4 separate regions of the Homo sapiens genome follow, and all the other regions are linked to region 3. The links are contacts of gene promoters, found by promoter capture Hi-C in human tissues and cell types (Jung and others, 2019). All regions are on one chromosome and are shown on one strand. The core of a region is centred on a gene start or on the middle of the fragment in contact, and the rest is flanking DNA. Distances in the headings are between cores, read along the strand shown.

Region 1 (3,133 bases), core at 198-2,697, 76 kb before region 3:
AGTTGTAAGACGGTTTGGTGGAAACAGCAAGTATGGTGGACATCTGCAAATCTGGAGAAGTGAGTTCAGCCTGCCTCTGCCCGGAGTTCTCTGTAATTCTAATCCCACTCACTCTGACTCTCAGATCCCCACCTGTGTGGGTAAAATGTATGACTGCATTATCTGTTCCAGCTCTAAACTTCTGTAATTTCATTTCCAGTGTTATTACAGAAAATCACAGTGTCGCCTCTTTTATGTCTCAGCTTTTATGTCTCATATGTTTATGAGCAAGTGGGAACAGCGGAAGTAGGAACTGAAAGTGGGGTAAGTATTCAGAAAAGGGAAGACACATTTTCTAAATAGGGTAAGTTGCTGTGATTTTGTGTCACTTCGACAGTGTGGCTTTTAGGATGTTGTCAATCCCCAAACCTTACCACTGTATGATTCCTACCCACCTTGCCACCCATACTGCAATCACGGAATCTCAATGTCTGCTAAATAAATTTTGCGATTTTGCAAGATGTCCTTTAGATTATGTCTACTACTCAGGAAGCTTGCAACATGGGGAGTGTGTGATATCTTGAGTGCACGGGCTAATGTCTTAGCAGGGATGAGTCAGTTGGGGGTCCTTAGGAAGGAGCCACAGGAAAGCTATCCAGAAATAAAGATGGAAAGGTGCATAAATGGAAGAAAGAGACAGAAATAACTAGTATCTCAGTTGTCACGTGGCTCAGGGAATTAGAGGAGGTCGGAAAATAAATCACTTAGTGCTGGAGCCCCTGCACATCACAGCATGGCTGTGCCTTCTGCTCAATGCCCCAGCTGGTGCTTTACTTAGGCTCTGTGGAAGGAGCACCTGTTGAAAGGCGCTGAAAGGGAGAGGCTCCAATCCAGGGGTCACAGATTCGAATGTATATGGATAAATAAATAAAATTAAACATATGCATGATGCTTCATCAAACTAGAAAATTCAATGACACGGGCTAAATGTTGATCAGATTCTAGAGAGATTGGTACAAGCACAGAAGTCAGGACATTTGTGAGAGGGGAGGGGAATAATTGATGAATAAAGACCAAACATCACCAAAAACTTGCCTTCTAGAATGCTAGTCATTGATTGGAATAAAATGAAATGGGAGATATGAGTTAACATAGGCAAGATGCAAGGTTAAGAACACCGTGCCCCGGCGGGTACAGTGGCTCACGCCTGTAATCCCAGCACTTTTGGAGGCCGAGGCGGGTGGATCACGAGGTCAGGAGATCGAGACCCTCCTGGCTAACACGGTGAAACTCCGTCTCTACTAAAAATACAAAAAAATTAGCCAGGCATGGTGATGGGCGCCTGTAGTCCCAGCTAACTGGGAGGCAGAGGCAGGAGAATTGCTTGAACCCAGGAGGCAAAGTTTGCAGTGAGCCAAAATTGTGCCACTGCACTCCAGCTTGGGCGACAGACCGAGACTCCATCTCAAACAAACAAACAAACAAAAAACACCGTGCCCCTGCCCCAATGCCTCTCCCTTGAATAAGATACTGGAAAACCTGCATAGTTAATGTCTGTAAACAAAGGGAATCATATCAGATGCAGTGTGTGAGTGTGAAAATATCTATGTCCTGCCCTCCCTTATTATTACACCATTTTCCCTCAAATAACACAGAGATACATTCATATTTTGCCCGTGCATCCCAATTTCTAGTTCATTCTGCGTTTGTTCTACGCTACACGTACTCTAAGTGTAGTTTCTCAGTTGCTCTTTACATTAACTGTATAAGGTAGGTCTATCACTTACCCCATTTCCTAGATGGGGAAATTGAGGCAAGAGAGTTAATTACTTTCCTAAGGCTGTCACACTAATATAAAGTGGAGTCATGATCTAAACCCCAGGGCCATTCTTTTGAACAACTGTGCTTCAAGCAAACTTTACCACAAAGGAGTCATGTGCCCCTAATAATTTTAAACATGCTACAGCAAATAGCATAACTCTATTCAGAGGTTAAAAAATATACTGTTTGTTACTTTTCTTTTGAGAACTATTATCAAGATTTAGAAAGAATTGATTCCAATATTATTACTCATATTGAAATGATTTTTTGGGACGTGGTCATAGATAATATTATTTGGATTTTTGAGTTATTTCTAAAGAAAGTAATTTCTGAGTTTATCATGCATTCTCATCTCATGACAAGTATGCACATATCTCTATTATACATTTCATATATTGTATAAATGTTACTTTTTTAACTGCTAAAATGTGAATGTTAAGAATATCAACATAATCACACTATCTCCCCCGGTTTTCATCTTATCTCTTCTAGATATTCATAATTTATAATATTTACATTGTATTTTGTAAATCCTACAGTTACATTAGCTTTGTTCTTAAAACAAATAGATACTAGAGACTAGCTCATGATAAGAAATTCTTGATTGACTGAATGTTTTCAAGAAGATTTCATGCAAAATATAGTCTCTATGTTCCTGCCTCTTCAAAAATATTCAGAAAGAGCTTGACCCATTCTTTCCCTAAAGAATTTGTAAGCATTGTGCCATTACATTCTAGAGTTCCATATTGACATGAAGTTTCAGGCCTCTCTGATGTACCTCCTTATAGCTAACTTGACCTTATTTTTTCTGGATGCCTAATGAATGTTTTCTTTAGCTTTGATTTCCAACAATTTTACTAAGATGTGTCTCAGTGTTGACTGTTCTATGTTCACTTACTGAGAAAAGCTGCATCCTTCGAATCTGTAATTCAGTGCTCTGTTTCCTACTAAGCTTTTATGAGTTATATATCATGATTTTTTTTCAGTTTTAAAAGTACCTCAAAGTACATTTTTATAGATGTGGTCCTCATTCTTTCAATTATGACTCATCTTTGAAATAAATTTTTGTTAGACCAGATGTCTGTCACTGTTTCACTTTGGGGAGGAACAGGGTAATGTTCTAGGATAGTGCAATGGACAGAATGCTGATGTTTCCCCCAAATTCATTTGTTGAATTTCTAACCCCCATGGGGGTGATGCTACCAGAAGGTAGGACCTTTGGGTGTGATTAGATCATGAAGGTGGAGCCCACATTAATGGTATTAGTAACCTTATGAAGGAGGTTCAAGAGAGAACCCTTACTGCTTCTACTACGTGAGGACACAGTGAAAAG
Region 2 (3,410 bases), core at 524-3,023, 71 kb after region 3:
TTGAAAAGGAGTGAAATAATGTCTTCTGAAGCAACTTGGATGGAGCTGGGGGCCATTATTCTAAGTGAAGTAACTGAGGAATCAAAAACCAAATATATGTTCTCACTTATAAGTAGGAGCTAAGCTATGAGAATGCAAAGGCATAAGAATGATATAATGGACTTTGGGGACTTGGGAGAGGGAAGGGTGTGAGATGGGTGAGGGATAAAAGACTACCCATTGGGTACAGTGTACACTGCTCAGGTGATGAGTGCACCAAAATCTCAGAAATCACCACTAAAGAACTTCACCTGTTTCCCAAAACTATTGAAATAAAAATAAAAATTAGAAAAGATCAGAGGGAAAGAATATGGGGGAAATAAGACCCCCATCAAAAAATAAGTGATGAAAGATACTGGGGAAAAACACAGGAGAGCAGGTTACTGGGGAAATAAAGACTATTTGAGAAATGGGCAAAAATGATAAATAATGCAAATCCACAATGTAAGTTTCATATTTTAAAAGTCTAGACCTCTTGCAGCTTTGAAACTTCATGATGCTATTTAAATGTCATGTTTAGTATTGTAAATAATGGTAATTTTAATCATTAATGCTAATTGCTATTCTCTGTGGCTATATTACTATTCATTTATTCAGTCAATGCATGTTTGTTTAGCACTAGAAGGAACATAAGCACACATCCAGTAGTCTGTATTTTATTTGGTTTAATTTCACACACCCAAAAATGCCTACGTAGGTATTAAATGTCAGCTCTTATTTTTAATGCTTTCTAGATTGCATCAGCCAAATGGGAAGAATTATAAAAAAAATGTAAATAACTACTTAAATACATTCATAAGGTCAATAATAACAAAATTTTATAATACTTCTTCATAAACCTTGGATTTGTTTTATTGCTTCTAGGTTCTCATAGTGATTTTGATAGCCTATCTTATCATTTGTTACTATATCTTTGTTAGGTATAAATGTTCAGGCTTCACCTATTACCAGGCATATTAAATTTCACAAGAGAAATGTGTAGTTACAGCTCCAAGGCAGGTGTTATGATCCTGTCAAATTGCTCAGGCTAATTTTAAATCATATCAGGTCTGTTGCTGGGAGATGTTTGAGGAACACAGGAAATTATATGGAGCCTGTTGATAACAGCCTGTCCTTATCCTGTGACCTAAAATAATACCAAACTTGCCACATTACCAACCCTCTTGTTTAAATGTAAAACCCATATTGGAGGTTTACACCAATGTCATTAAAAAAAGAAAGTTAGGATTCAAAAATATGATTGTAATTTTTGAAATCCTGGTAGCGAAAATTTAGCTGAAATTGGCAATTATATTTGACAAAATATTTAATATAAATCAATGTGATGTTTAGTTCAATTACCTCAGGAATATATAGAGTTATCACTGATGGCCTAAGGCCATGCATTCCAAGCTTGGGTGATCATAAGCATTACCTGTGGTGTGTTTCTGCAATACAGTTTCCTAAGCCCCTTTTCCGAAGTGCATTCCGTAGATGTGCAGGTTAACCAGTGTCCTCGGTGAATCTCCTGCTCAGATATACTGGCAGCACACTGGCCTAAAGTAAGGAATTCTTATGCTTTTTAAGAAACTGGATGCAGAGAGCTCTTCTGCATCAACTGAAGTATGTTCAGTCTTAGCTTGTAGGTTTTATTTCCTTACAGTTCATTAAGGTCAGAAAGAAGGGTTAATCTTCCTAACTCAAATGATGCTCCGAAGACAGGAATTGTTAACTAGGTTTGTGTTCAGTGTGAAACTGGCACAGGGGGCCTGACTGCAAACAGCCATGCAGGGAGGTTGAGGCTGAGGAGGTGGTGATGGTAAGAATGCTGGGCTTCGGAGGAGGAGATCAAATGGGCCTCCCTCATGATGAGAAGGGAGAGAAGGGATGGAGGATGGCAGGGATTGGGACTTACAGTAAACAGATACTGGTTTTTCTTGAAGGATGTTTGGATTTCACAGCCCATGCTTTTCTAACCAAGGAGCCAGCCTTAGCATTGACATTTGAGGGAGTATACAATTCCAAATGAGGTTGAAGATAAAGGAGCAATTGCTTTTTACATTAAAGGCACAGCCTTTTCAGAGCAATCTGTTCATCCTCTGTTATCACTTTAAAGGGAGTCTAGTTTTTAGCTTGATGTATACATTTAACTGACTCTCTATAATGGCAGAGAAGACTGCATGGCACTTCCAAGTTCATTTCTTTACCTTTAAGTGGATTAAGGCATATGCCTGCTTAGCTTTCCCACGTTCACTGCTTTGAGGGGAGTAAAACTGGAGTGATTTCAGGAATTGACACTGGAAGAGTTTCCTGGTCACAGGCTTTGAACCCGGAAAGACCTAAGCTGACTGTCAACTTTAACTTGAGAGAGCTGTTAACCACCTCAGTTTCCTTGTCTAAGCGGAAGAACAGAACATGTTAATAGAAAGTGCAGTTTACTGAGCATGTACTGTGTGCTCAGGCATTGTACTAAGTACCCTATGTCTTATTCGTGAACCCCCCACTACAACCTTTGGAGATATGTGTTATGTTCTGACAACAGCAATAATTTTGCGTCTTCCTCATGGAATTTTTTGTTTATGTGTGAGTGATAATGAGATTAGACTCATTAAAGATTAAAGAAGATTAAAGCCATGCCAATATTAGGTTCCCAGTTCTCAAAAAAAAGGGAGTTATATTCCTTTTCTTTCATTTGTGACTGTTCCTTTTCATCTTTTGGTGTTTTCAGGAAGCCATTTTGCCTGCAGCCGCTGAAGTGGCCCAGCTGCAGATGTTAATGGCTGTTTACCAGTAGGAGCCAAAACACCACACTAAAGAAGCTAGGAGGTGTGGTTATTTTGCCTTTTCTGTAAGATAAATTTCTTAATGCTAATGCCTCCAAATGAAGACATTTGATTTATCTCTAAAGTATATTTTTAAGTATAGAAACTGTAATGAGTGGCTAGATTACTACTCTGTTTTAAAATGTGTTACAAGACAGCTTTCATCATGTCAATCTACGGATCCAACAATTAAAAGAAAGGTTACCGAAATTGTACACAGATAGAAGTTTACTTCATATAGCCCTGGCATTCCAGTCTCTTCTAAGAATGTGAAATAAAGGATTGATAGATGGATAAACACATGGTAGATGGAGGTCTGATTCAGGTGGTGTTAAAAATCAAACAAAAATCTTTCCAAAGTAGGGATCAAATTCTACTTCTTTTGAGATATAAACTGTTTATAGCTTTGAAATGACAGTTTTCACCTCAGCACACCCATTAAATTTTTATGGAACCCTTCCTCGTCTATTAATACATGGCATATAGGAGGGGCTCAATATAATTTAGTTCCCCTTAAATGCTTTGGTATGTGATTTGGAGAGAGCAGCTGACATAGTTGAATATATATCA
Region 3 (3,422 bases), core at 342-2,841:
TCACACTGTCTGGTTTTAGCAGTGGCTAGGTCAAAGTATACTACAGAAGAACGAAAAATCGACTCTAGAAAAGCACGCAGAATGACAGCCAACCAGTTAGGGAGTAAATGTTTCTCGTTGCAGATGTTTGGGAAGCCATGATTTTTATTTAGAACTGTGGAAACCTTATCTTTGAATTTAAAAAGCCAGTCCTGAGATGCATCTGCCTCAGGGGTAACTACCATAGTGAAACCGCTCCTCTCCCAGGCCATATCAAATCACAGTTGTAGTTATGAACATACAAATCACACACATATATATATATATATACATACATATATATTTCAAAATCGCCACCTGTTAATTTTTGATCCCCTATTAGAGGTGTTATCCACCAACTACTAACACGAAGGTCACTGGTCCTCAACCCACATTTCACCACCAGGGCAGTCGGGCCTAGCTGATGACCACACGAACACCAGATTAAGAGTAAAACCTTCTGAGGCCTGAAAGTGAGCGTGTATTCACACATCCTTAATAATACAGTGTCTGAAAAATTGTACCTGAAACTGAAAGATTTATTCTAAGGTATTTCAAGCACTAAGGGTCTGAGTTCAGCATTCTCACACCATCCTGAAAGAGGAACATTAAGTCAGCAAAATGACTGCGATCTGGGCCCCCAGAGGGATCCCAGCCAGGCCATCCTTGCTGGTGTCTTAAAGATTCAGTGACAAAATGGTGTTGCTTGGCAGGACACTGTTTTGCGTTCGGTGTAGCCACCCTAATGACGGCTGCTTAACAAGGCCAATGAATATCATAAGGGACATTTAGCAAGGAGCAATCCACAGGAGCATGGGGGTGGGGCAAGGCCGCGGAGCCCCCGCGGAGACCTGCTGGAGCCAGGCTGCCCACCCCCACCTCCCCACCCGCGCGTTGGCCCAGAGGTTTACCCAGGCAGCGGCCCTGGTGCCGAGGGGGCAGGTGCAGCGCTGTAGTGATGCCCAGTGGCCTCGTCCTCAGCCACCTGCCCCCCAACACCTGCTAGATGCCCAGGCGGGGCAGGCCCGAGGTGTCGCCGGCCCTGGGCTTCCCAAGCCAGCCCAGGGGCATCCCGCGGCAGGCGCCCCCGACACCCACGCGCAGGAATAGGGAGGGCGCATCGCGGCTCCCGCGCCCCGGCCAGGCCGGCAAGGACCCCACCGCCCCGCTCTCGGGTGGAGGCGCCCCTCCCCACCCCTCCCCCGCGCGGGGCCCCCGCCCGCAGCCCCTCTAGCAGCCCCTCTCGCAGCCCCAGCGCCCCTGAGCCGTCCTGGCCCGGACCGGCCAAGGAACTAACGAGCGCGCATCGCGGGCCTCGGGCGCAGGGCACGGAGCCGGCCGCGCCGCAGCCTCCCGGGCACCGGCGGCGGTGACCAACCTGTAACCCCAGCGCTCAGAGCTGTCATGGTGCCCGCGGGCGGCGGCGGCGGCGACAGTGGGCGACCGGCAGGATCAGTGCCAGGCGCGGCGCCCAGGGCGGGCGGGGACGCGGGCCCCTCACCTACGGCGGCTCAGCTCAGGCAGCGCGCTCGGCCCGGCTGGGGCCGCGGCTCACGCTCGCCGTGTCACTCACTGAGCGCCGCCGCCGCCGGGCAGGCTGGGGGAGGGGTGGGAGCCGGAGTTTTCGGGCCTTTAAAAAATTATTATTTTATTTAAATTTTTAAAGTTAGCTTTGCTACAGGGACTGCAGTGATGCCGAAGGGCGGGCACCGCAGAGGAGGCTGCGCCGCAGTTGGTGGGGAGCGCCAGGGTCGGTACTGGCAGTTCCTTCTTGCCGGCTGCCACCCGCAGTCAGTCTCACAGCAACAGCTAGGCTCTCATCTGCGAGCTCCTCTCGGGGGTCTTTCGTACTCAACAGCACGGCGGCGGTGTGCACGGGAGTCCGCCGGGCACACGCGGGGTACACTTAAGTGCACTGCCAGGAGGCCGGGAGCCCAGCGTGCGAGCGTGAGGTCAGACTGTGCACGGTACCGAGGACTAGTTCCATTCCTGAGTATGAAAGGGTGAAACCGTTCACCTCAAGTTTCACCCCGGAGTTATTAAATAATGAATGCATCAGTCACACTTATAGTTTTCTAAATAGGTTGACGTTCGCCTTTAAAATTAAAATATGTTGTCGTGTGGATGAGACAAAGTCTATTCAGAAATTGACAGTCCCCCACCCCATACCCTGTGAGTATACCTGGACAGCAGACTGCATCTGAGGCTTCCTAGGGCTCCCAGCAGAGCAGGTTTAGGGAAATCTGGCCTCCTAAGCACCATGCCCAGGGCGACATCCTCCCACTCATTCCCACTCTCTGAAAGGTTTACTTTGGGTCTGGAATCTTGCCATGTAGTCAGATACGAAAATCCCCAGGGAACTCCTGACCAGTGATTTAGACATCATGCACACAGGCATATAAATAAAGGGAAAGAAACAACTGAATGAAGCTTTCTCTACAAGAGAAATTCTAAACAAAGAGCATTTGTCTATCACAAAATGTTATGTGGCAAGGTATAGAAGTAAAACTACACAAACCTACATTTTAAAAATGTATTTTCTGGTTACAGATATTTAATTAATCTACTTTCTTAAAAAGTCCATTCACAATTTGTTCACATTCATAATCCATATTAGTACGTTTTATTGTTTACAGGGAAATGTTAAAATATTGGTATTTCATGAAATACAGAGTCATGCGAGATAATTTTTCAAATTTCTAAAGACTTCAGAAAAACTGTGTCAAAAGCCAGGTTTTAAACAAATGATGAAATCACTCCTCATAAGAAAAAATTGACAGTAATTTAAACAATGCTAAATCTACAACCAGTTTGCTTAGAAAAAGTATTTACCAACTTGTTTCATCATCTTTATTTGCGGCTTTCAATTGCTTGTTCTAAATACTAGTTTATTTCACAAACTGAAATATATAGCTATATATATATGGTAGCTGAATGATAGTGTGTTATTCCTTGACATTCGTTCGAATTATCTGTTAGTAAATTATATTAAGGAAATATTTAAACATTTATTTATAATGTTTTGAAGTGGTCAAGGCAGTGATTTTTTACTAATCTCAGTGCCACTCCTCACCCAACAGGCATTTCAGACCTTTCTCTGTCCTTGGTTGAACTACCTCTGTTAAGTCTCTATAATTCATGCTCATGAGCCAAACAATCCCAATGATGATGGAGACAGTCTCAGAGAATTCATGGGCTTCAAGGAAGTCATGGAATCCAGCACACTCATCCTATAATGCATAGGGATTCACTGTGTATTGGAGTAGACAATCATTTTAAAAAACAGGTACATCCAAAATATCATAGTACCCCTTCTACCTGCTCAGTATCTCTCTTCTTTTGTTTTCTTTGTTATTTTTAGAGACAAGGCCTATCTCCGTTGCCTAGCCTGGAGTGCATTGATG
Region 4 (3,190 bases), core at 130-2,629, 110 kb before region 3:
ATCACATTCATTAAAGTGGCTGAGACTTGTCATGAATTGCTGTGGGTCAGGCTTGGCTCATTTAATCCTCACTGACACCTTAGTACTACAAACACCATTTTACTGATACAGAAAGCGAGTTAAGCCATTTGCTAAGGTCGCATGGCAAGGAAGTGCTACTGTGGGTTGGATCCTGCCCTCCATGCAAGCTTAATCCCCTGTCCCTATCAGGCTTTCTTTGTGTGGAGGAAGTTCAGGTGCTATTATCAGGTGCATTTTCTTGGACTCTGAGAACCCAGGCTCCTTCCTGCGGTTTCTGAGGTAAGGGGTGGGGCTCTGAGATGCCTTCAGTCCCTGGAAGAGCCAAGCATAGGCTGGGTTTGAAGTTCATGTTGTTGCATGATTATTAACCACAACCAATAGACATGAGCATCTTGTTTGGGGCCATTATTGTTATGAACTTCTAAGTCAGGGTAAGGTCTCAGCTTCATTTTCCTGCTACTATTATGGAGATCCTTGGGTGCTTAGCCCCTCTTTGTCGCTTGGAGAAAAACCTCATGTTTTGGTATGATTAGCTTCTGAGCAGAGCGATGGTGGTCTGGGCCCCATTAGACAGCTCCAACCCATGGAAGCCACAGACAACTGTTGGCCACAAACCCAGAACAGTCATAACTTTGAACTTCCTAGGACTGTCACAGATTACACAGATGGAGAGAAACATCCTGTTACACACCAGGCCTTTCTCTATTTCAGTTCTCCACCAACACACTGGCAAGTCGTTCTTATCACTCTTACATTAAAAATGAAAAGACTGTGGCTTAATGAGACTAAACACATCCCTGAGTTCACCCAGAGTGGATGTCTGGAGCGGCATTCCAATGAATCCGTGCTCGCCTCCACAGACTATGTTCTTTCCACTCTGCCATGCATGTCTGAACTTTCTGAAACTTTTCTTGGCTTGGTTTTGAGGAATTTGAACAAATTCCTGTCTGGTATACTTTGTGAGAGCAAAAATTCTGCTTTTAAAGTTAAACAGACTAGCCCAAGAAAAGGGAAGGGAGGAGGGGTGAAATTTCCTTCCTGCATTTTGGATTAGCAATAGTTCTTCTGTGCTTTTGCTTGGGTTGAGGAGAACATTTCTCTGCCTTCTCTGCACTCTTAGCTCCTCAAATGATTGTCCAACAAGAGTAGGTAAAGATAGTTTTAAATATTCTTAGAGTTCTAACCAAAATCCGATATTTAAAATTTAAAAAGCAGCAAGATTTTAATTATTTTCACTAATCTGTTAGGTAAATCAGAACAATATAAAATTTAGCAGTGACTCTGGTTTAGCTTTTGGGTGTATTGGGTGTACCTTTTGGATATTCCATACGATTACTGAAATTCTAACTATGGCTTTGTTCTGTGTTAAAAATGTAATCATTTGAGAAATATAAAATAGAGAAATTAGTTTATAACAATAAATTTGTTTTGACTTCAATAAATGAAGTCAAATTTCATGGCTTCATTTTTGGAATATATTTATAATGGACTGGGCATTTTGTCCTTTGGTTATTTAAGCCTGTAGTAGATATTGCTGCTTGCGACTCTAGACTCATTCTTCTCTTCTTCCTGGGCGCATGGCTGCTCAGTGAGGGAATATGTTTCCTAGAATTTCCTGCAAGGAGTTGTGGCCTTGTGACAAAGTTCTTCCTGATGTATGCAACTCCCAAGCCATCTACAAAAACTCCTTCCCTGGACTCATTTTTCCCTTCCCTTCCACCAGCTAGAAATAGAGAAGCCAAGGACAGACTTGGAGAGTAAGTGTTGAGTTTGGCAGAGATGCCACAGAGGCCTGCACTTTGGGATGACTTCATGGGGCCCAGCTCATCCAAATACCCACATACCCAGGATGGCAGCTTCAGAAAGAAATCAACTTGTGTCTTGCTTGAGCCATTGTGTTGTGAGTTCTCTCTTTAAAGCTTACTTTACCCCAACTATTACATAGACTGAGACTCAAAGTAGCTATGGTCCGTGGGCCCAGTTCTCAGAAACGGCTGATGTTCACAAGGATGTCTGTTTGGAAAAAATATGCTAACTAAAAATTATTGACATACAGACATTTTAGGATTTCACACAAGTATATGAAGCAGATTGGACGGTTCAGGGAAACAAAACAAGGCAAAGTTCCAACTGATGTCTGATAAAACAGCTCTTTTTTTCTCACAAAAGCCACTCTACTAACCTTGCCCTAAGTTACTGGCATACCAAGACACAGAAATTCACACTTCATACCTACACTTAGCCCGAAGAATGAACTCCACCCATAGATCTAAAATAACAAGGTAAAATGTACAATTTAATGTCACATAAAGATTTGCTTAAGATTCTTTGAAATGTTCAAAGGAGATACTTTGAATATGAGATTGTTACTTTTTAAATATAGGGTTTTGGTTTCATGACTAATGGTATGATTCAACAACATGGAGCAATAAATTATTTCTCAAGAAAAAGCATTATACTTTAATTTGTCCCATTTCAAGGCTTTAAAAATCTTGCCAAAATAATGCTATTTTTACCAAATAAAATGTTAAAATACAGGCAAAGTCTTAAGAATAATACACACACACACACAATTCAACATTACTAAACTCAGACATACCAAAGAAATTCACATTCTTGAAAGGACTACCAAGCCTGCATCTTGTTATTCTAGGCAAACAAATATGAGAAATATTTAGTACTGGAATAGGAAGTATTTTGGCAAGTTTTTGCAAGTGCTTTGACCTCACAGTTCATGACCATAATGAATGGCCACCTCAGTGATATAAATCAGACACCACATAGTTTGATAAAATGTAGGGATACATTTCCTCATCTGTCAATCAAAGCATGCTCATTGGCCACTTCAGCACATCAACCACCCCATATTCATTTTGTCTATTGGCAAATAATTCCTAAGACAGTCTGTCTTAAATTTCAGCAAGACTCTAGTGTAATGCCTTGTGGTTTGAGTGAAATTCACATCATGTAACCAAGCTTTTGCAAATTTGATCATTTTACTTTATGGAAAATATTTTCATCTCAGCCATTGTTGACTTTGTATTCTTGACAAGAATTAAGCAAGTCTCATTGATCCTTTACTGTGTCAAAGAAAACAATTTTAAAAAAATTGAGCATGTGTAGTTTTCATTATTCAATCATGTTTTCTGTTTTGACATAAAAAGTGAAA

Evidence for each region. The method cuts DNA at HindIII sites, captures the fragments that hold promoters and counts their contacts. A contact is called where the count stands out against the background at its distance.
Region 1: a fragment that was not itself captured here is called in contact with the fragment with the promoter of NALCN in region 3 in 7 of the 25 tissues and cell types used here (aorta, bladder, liver and 4 more).
Region 2: a contact is called between a fragment that was not itself captured here and the fragment with the promoter of NALCN in region 3, in 2 of the 25 tissues and cell types used here (mesendoderm cells and thymus).
Region 4: a contact is called between a fragment that was not itself captured here and the fragment with the promoter of NALCN in region 3, in 5 of the 25 tissues and cell types used here (IMR-90 fibroblasts, aorta, dorsolateral prefrontal cortex and 2 more).

What each region holds. Positions count from the first base shown.
Region 1 is chr13:101,338,822-101,341,954 of GRCh38, forward strand. The region is part of intron 7 of NALCN (sodium leak channel, non-selective); the gene reads right to left. Among named protein-coding and RNA genes, the nearest start is that of NALCN, 76 kb to the right of the region's middle. The HindIII fragment of the contact is 5,110 bases long and covers 1-3,133 here.
Region 2 is chr13:101,486,161-101,489,570 of GRCh38, forward strand. The region is part of intron 2 of ITGBL1 (integrin subunit beta like 1); the gene reads left to right. Among named protein-coding and RNA genes, the nearest start is that of ITGBL1, 35 kb to the left of the region's middle. The HindIII fragment of the contact is 4,379 bases long and covers 1-3,410 here.
Region 3 is chr13:101,414,917-101,418,338 of GRCh38, forward strand. NALCN (sodium leak channel, non-selective) reads right to left here and starts at 1,592. Exons shown (of 44, transcript NM_052867.4): 1 at 1,397-1,592. RefSeq lists enhancers at 393-943, 944-1,494. The HindIII fragment of the contact is 15,657 bases long and covers 1-3,422 here.
Region 4 is chr13:101,306,650-101,309,839 of GRCh38, forward strand. All of the region lies in intron 7 of NALCN (sodium leak channel, non-selective), which reads right to left. Among named protein-coding and RNA genes, the nearest start is that of NALCN, 110 kb to the right of the region's middle. The HindIII fragment of the contact is 3,569 bases long and covers 1-3,164 here.